2 separate regions of the Homo sapiens genome follow, and region 2 is linked to region 1. The links are contacts of gene promoters, found by promoter capture Hi-C in blood cells and fetal thymus (Javierre and others, 2016). All regions are on one chromosome and are shown on one strand. The core of a region is centred on a gene start or on the middle of the fragment in contact, and the rest is flanking DNA. Distances in the headings are between cores, read along the strand shown.

What was found. Contacts are between HindIII fragments. The CHiCAGO score rates a contact against its expected background, and 5 or more counts as called.
Region 2: a contact is called between the fragment with the promoter of SLC35A3 here and the fragment with the promoter of GPR88 in region 1, in 1 of 17 cell types (activated CD4 T cells). The highest score is 5.1, in activated CD4 T cells.

What each region holds. Positions count from the first base shown.
Region 1 is chr1:100,536,800-100,539,650 of GRCh38, reverse strand. GPR88 (G protein-coupled receptor 88) reads right to left here and starts at 1,512. Exons shown (of 2, transcript NM_022049.3): 1 at 1,149-1,512; 2 at 1-757. The coding sequence starts at 684. RefSeq lists a silencer at 1-120 and enhancers at 1-238, 391-790, 239-1,088. The HindIII fragment of the contact is 8,214 bases long and covers 1-2,851 here.
Region 2 is chr1:99,968,526-99,971,376 of GRCh38, reverse strand. SLC35A3 (solute carrier family 35 member A3) reads right to left here and starts at 1,381. Exons shown (of 8, transcript NM_012243.3): 1 at 1,215-1,381. All of the region lies in intron 1 of LOC124904230 (a long non-coding RNA gene), which reads left to right. RefSeq lists enhancers at 932-1,021, 1,742-1,791, 1,852-1,901 and a silencer at 1,142-1,341. The HindIII fragment of the contact is 6,900 bases long and covers 1-2,851 here.

The sequences.
Region 1 (2,851 bases), core at 263-2,762:
CACGCTGACCCGCTTGACGCTGACACGCACGCGGCGCACGATGCCCAGGTAGCAGTGCAGCAGCAGAGCTGTCTGCGCCAGCAGCGCCGCGGCGGCCAGCAGCGCCGGGTAGTGGACTCGCGGTGGCGCGGCGCCGGGCCGCGGTGCCCAGGGCGGGAGCAGCAGCACGAGGCCCAGGGCGAGCGCCCAGGACAGCGCCAGCATGCCCGCCGTGTGGCGCCTCTGGTACAGCGCCTGGTAGGTGGCGGGCGCCCGGGTGATGAGCAGGTAGCGGTTCAGGGCCACGAGGCAGTGGGAGAGGAGGGACACCGTGAGTCCGAGGCCCAGCAGCCCACCCCGTAGCAGGCGGTAGCTGCCCCCAGCGCCGTCCCAGTCTGCGGGGGGCTCCGCAGAGCCGGTGGGCAGGAGCCCGAGCACCGCCTCCTGCGGCATCCAGAGGGCGCAGACGCTGAGGTCGGCGGCGCAGCCGTTCACGATGAAGGCGTTGCTGGTGGTCTGCAGCTTTCGGAAGGACGACACGAGATAGATGACCATGCCGTTGGCCAGCGTGCCCCCGATGGCCAGGCCCGAATACAGGAGTGACACCGGGATGCGCCGGCCCGCCCACGACTCCTCTTCCTCGCAGAGCAGCAGCAGCGAGCCACCGGTGGTGGAGGAGGTGGATGTGGAGGAGGAGTTGGTCATTCTGGCCAACTCTTCACACCTCCCTCGCTAGCGTCGGCTTCTGGCAGCGCGGTCCATCCTGACACTGTCCTGCCTGCCAGAAGGGCAAAGACATCCCTTCAGCCCTCTGCCACTGACACAAAAGGCTGAAGCAGAATAATGGGCTGGGGGAGGGGGAGAAAGGGAGCTCGAGGAGGAGGACGGGGGTGGCAGATGACAGGTGCCTGCCTCGGAAATGTCTCCAGAGCCAGGGGAAAGGCCACTTTGCATTGGATTCAGCAGGTATCGGGGAAGCCCTAGGACAGAGCAATACCTAAAACAGTCTCCTCTTCTCCCCCAACACACACACACACACACAGAGAGAGAGAGAGAGAGAGAGAGAGAGAGAGAGAGAGAGATATGTTGCCAGCTGGAGGACCTAGTTCCAGGAGAAAGCAGAGATATCCCAGCTGGGGAAAATCCCATGGGAAAGAGGTGAAGGTTACCTTGCGTTTAGGCTGGTCCTTAGCCGGTGTCTCAGGGGGAGGGATGCCGGGAAATACCTCCTCAGCAACAGCATCAGTGGTCCAGAAATCAACAGGAGAAACTCAGCTGGGATCAGTGCCAGGAGCAAGTGCCCGCTTCTCCCAAGCAGCATCCACACACATGGTCCTGGGCAGGAACTAGCAGCTGCAGGGAGACTTCTCAGCTGGTATCAGGGCTGGAGAAAGTAAAGTGGCGGGCTGCAAGCCCAGGCGGGTGGGCAGGCAGGCAGCAGCAGCAAGAATGCTTGGCTGCAAAAGCAGAAGCTGAGCTCAAGAGGAGAGCACCCTGTGCTCAGAAGCAGGAGTGGTGGCTGATGTGGTGAACCCACTCGAAGCTCTCTCCTGCTTAGTTATACATCATCCAGGGAAAAGACAGCCTTTCCACGCTTGGCATGAATTATTCAATAGCTTCCAACTTGTAAAAGGAAGAAAAATATCTTGCTCAGAAAGTCCTGTCGTTAACAAGTTTCTCTGTCTTTTCTCTCTCCCAATCACCTTATTTTTCATCCTGTTTCATTTTTCTTTCCGTCCTTTTTTTCCCTCCCTTCAATATTAGAATAAAATTTAATATACCCTAGAGTATTTCATCTCAGTCTGATGCATTTTGTGGGCAAGATTTTTCTGTGAGATAAATATATTCCCAGTACCCAGGACTGATCTCTTTATTCCCACATTTTTTAACGAGAATTACTTTATGCACTACTTGAAATTCATTTTTCTTTGGTAAAGTGGAACATAGACAATTATCCACAGAAAATCTCCATTCCTCAATTTAAATCGTACTTTCAGTGTTTTCTCATCAACAAACTCCTTTCCGGAGTTTGTTTTGTGTTTTAGTAATGAAATGGTTAGAGGGTAAAAATGAAATGGGCAAAAGATTTAAAGCAGATGTCAGTGGTACATCTAGACAATGGAATATTATTCAGTGCTAAAAAGAAATGAGCTGTCCAGCCATGAAAAGACATGAAGGAACCTTAAGTGTGTATCACTAAGTGACAGAAGCCAACTGGAAAGGACTACATACTGTATGCTACCAACTATGACATTCTTGAGAAGGCAAAACTATGGAGACAGTTAAAAAGACCAGTGGTTGCCCGAGTTAGGGGGAAAGGAGGAATGAATAGATGATCACGGAAGATTCTTAGGACAGTGGAACTACTCTGTATGATACCATAATAGTGGATCTGTGTACTTATAAATTTGCCCAAAGTGGCAGAATGTGAAACATCAGTGTAAGCCATGGACTTTGGGGAATGATGTGTCAACGTACATTCAATTGTAACAGACGAACCACTCTGGTGGGGGATTTTGATAATGGGAGAGGCTATGTATGCGAGGGGCAGGGAGTACATGGGAAATCTCTGTATCTTTCACTCAAATTTGCCATGAATCTAAAATTGCTCTAAAAAAATAAAGTCAATTTTAAAAAAATGTGTGTCAGGGGGAAAGCAAGAAACCTGAATAATCCACAGTGTGAACAAAGATGACTTTTCACTTCAGAACTTTTTGTCTTGTCTGTCTTGGAGATTTGCAGTCTGATGTTGGCATCTTCTTTGGTGCAAGTGTTCATTTATCCATTCCATGTGGGAATTTTTTCAGAAAAGGAGTTCTCTCAATTATTCACTGGAAAAGTCATGTATTTGAAAATGTAACTCAATATGGGA
Region 2 (2,851 bases), core at 132-2,631, 570 kb after region 1:
TGAGATTGCGCCACTGCACTCCAGCCTGGGCGACAGAGCGAGACTCCGTCTAAAAAAAAAAAAAAAGAATCATATTGATTTTACTGGAGCCACCGTCAGACTCAAATTCTGAAGGAAAAATCTGAAGCCTCCCTAAATAATATAAAATTTATTAAATGCCTCCCTAAATAATTTACATTTTATTCTGAAGCCGATCGAGAGTCACTGCGTATTTCTGAGGAAGGAATAACCAAAAAAAGAAAGTCATAAGATCTTTGGCTTTAAAAGTAATATGGAGGCAAGTGACTGGAAGGGTGCCAGGCTGAGGACAAGTCCAGTTTGGAAGTTATTGCTATAGTGCAAGTAAGAAGAGGAAAGACGAGCATATTTAGCAGACAGGTAGTGGGAATGAAAAAGGGGAGAACTAAATTTGAGATGCTGAAGAGATAGAATCAACAGTTGGGAGGAAAGTTAGCCTCAGAAATATAAGTTTACAAGTCATTCCCTTGAAACACCCTGAGTTTACCAGTGAAAGTGAATAAGAACACCAAGTAAGAAACTGCACCAAATTTCATCTTTAACTACTAAAGTCGAATGTTGATTTCAAAAACGAAAAGACTTAATTTTCAAATACTGCATTTAAGAGAACATAATAAAAGATCGTCTTTTACTATAAAGCAATGCACCCACACACCTGTTCTGATGAGAATCTCACCCCACTTCAAACAGTCCTTGTGTTCTTACTAGCCTTACCAAGGGCAGCCTTTCCATTTCTTTAAGTTCCTGCGGCTTCTTGAGCTCCAGGTGCTGGTCGGGTGCATCTGTGCCTACCACAGGGCTCAACACCGAGCGAGAGCTCATGGGATGTTCACTGAAGGAATGACGGGCCCCAGCCGGGCCCACCCGTCACTAGCTCCGCACGCACCAGGCGCTGAGGCACACACTGCCGTCTTCATTCGCTTGACACACCCCTCTCCTCGGGCCTTTTTTCCTCCTCCACCCAGTACATTCCGCACGTCGTCCGTCGGAGTTACAACGTGTCACCTCATCTGCTCCCACCCCTACTTAGCTAGCACTGTATTTCAGGTCTTCGATACCGTCCCCTTCACCCCTACAGACTTCACATCAGCCCCCTCGCATGCCTCCTCTTCCTCCTCCTCCAGGAGCTTCCCGGGCCGCCCCGCAGCCGCTAGCCTCCTGGTTCCCGCCCCTCCCCAGGTGCGCTGAGGACTCACCTCCCGCGCAGCTCGACCGGCTGAGCCCACCACCGGGGGCCGCGGTTCAGCTCCGCCGGGCGCCCCAGGCTGCCGAGTCCGCTGGGTCCTACGCGACCGCTGACCCGCAGCGCCGCCGGCTCCCGTCGCCGTAGCCACCGCCAGCTCGGTGCAGCCCAGGCGTTTCCGGGTTCCCGCGGTCCCGTCCCCCAAATGCTCCGGCTTCCGCCTCGGCTCTGGCAAATGCCGTTCCCGGCTCGGCTCTGGCAGCCCCAGCTCGGCACTTGGCAGCTCTGTCCCTAAGGCGACGCACCTGGGCTGCTCTGCTGGCAGCCCCTGGTTCCTGCTTCACCGTCGCGTGGAGGCCTGGGGCACTGCTTTCTGCTACACCTCTCCTAGGAGCGCGAAACAGATGGAGTGACACTCGTCGAGGGCCTCTGCGGGACTGTCTGTTTGCAGAGGGTGCCAAGGTGTCCACTGCGTAAGGAAGGGCAAAGTCCTTTGGGGCAAAGAACCCTGAGAGGAACGGGGAGATGGATTTTGAAAGCAAACGAACCCTCTCCTAAAAGTGACTGTCACTGACCTGAAAACAACCAGATTAGCTATGGCAAAGGCTGCCAACCAACCAGTGGTCTGCAAGAAGGCTTGTTCTTCCACTTCACCCACCCTGACTGAGATCTTGAGACTGAAGGAAACCCAAAGCCGTACCACCAATGGGCCTAGTGTCATCAACCGGGAGAGGAAAAAGAAAACTGGGCCCAGAGGATTGCAGAGTTATGAGGGACCAACCCCTTCCTGGCTGCATGGATCACAGCATTACCTTTTAAAAGTGTTCCAGTAGCTGTGTTGGAAACCCTCTAACCACGGCAGCCCATTCAGGTGATGAACAGGCTGAAATCAGTACTTCAGGTTCAGCTGGATTATCAAATAAGCGAATAGGATTATCTCTTTTTGTTAACTCAGGGCTGCTATAAATTAAGCCTATGTCTCTTTATATTGCAAATGATTAAAACCATGTCCAAGAGAGACATACTTAGAAAAAAAGTGATATTGAAGAAAAATAAGTAACTGTATTAGAGTAGAATAACTGGTTTTAAAATTTTCTGCAATACAGTCTTGAGAAAATTCCTGGATGGTAAAATACATATTAGATCTTAATACATGCCCAGTTTTTTTTGAAACCAAAATGTGCCTGTTAGATGATGATAACAGCATGCCTCGTTTTATTGTGATTTGCTTTATTGCTCTTCACAGACATTGCTTTTGTTTTTTTGTTTTTTTTTTTTACAAATTGAAGGTTTGTGGCAACCTTGCCTCAAGCACATCTATTGGTGCCATTTTTCCAACAGCATGTGCTCACTTTGTGTCTCTGTGTCACATAATATTCAATAATTTTTGCAATATTTAAATTTGTTCATCATTATTATATCTGGTATAGTGCTTTGTGATCAATGATCTTTGATGTTACTATGGTAATTGTTTTGGGGTGCTGATATGGTTTGGCTGTGTCCCCACCCAAATCTCAACTTGAACTGTATCTCCCAGAATTCCCACGTGTTGAGGGAGAGACCTAGGGGGAGATAATTGAATCATGGGGGCCAGTCTTTCCTGTGCTATTCTCATGATAGTGAATAAGTCTCATGAAATCCGATGGGTTT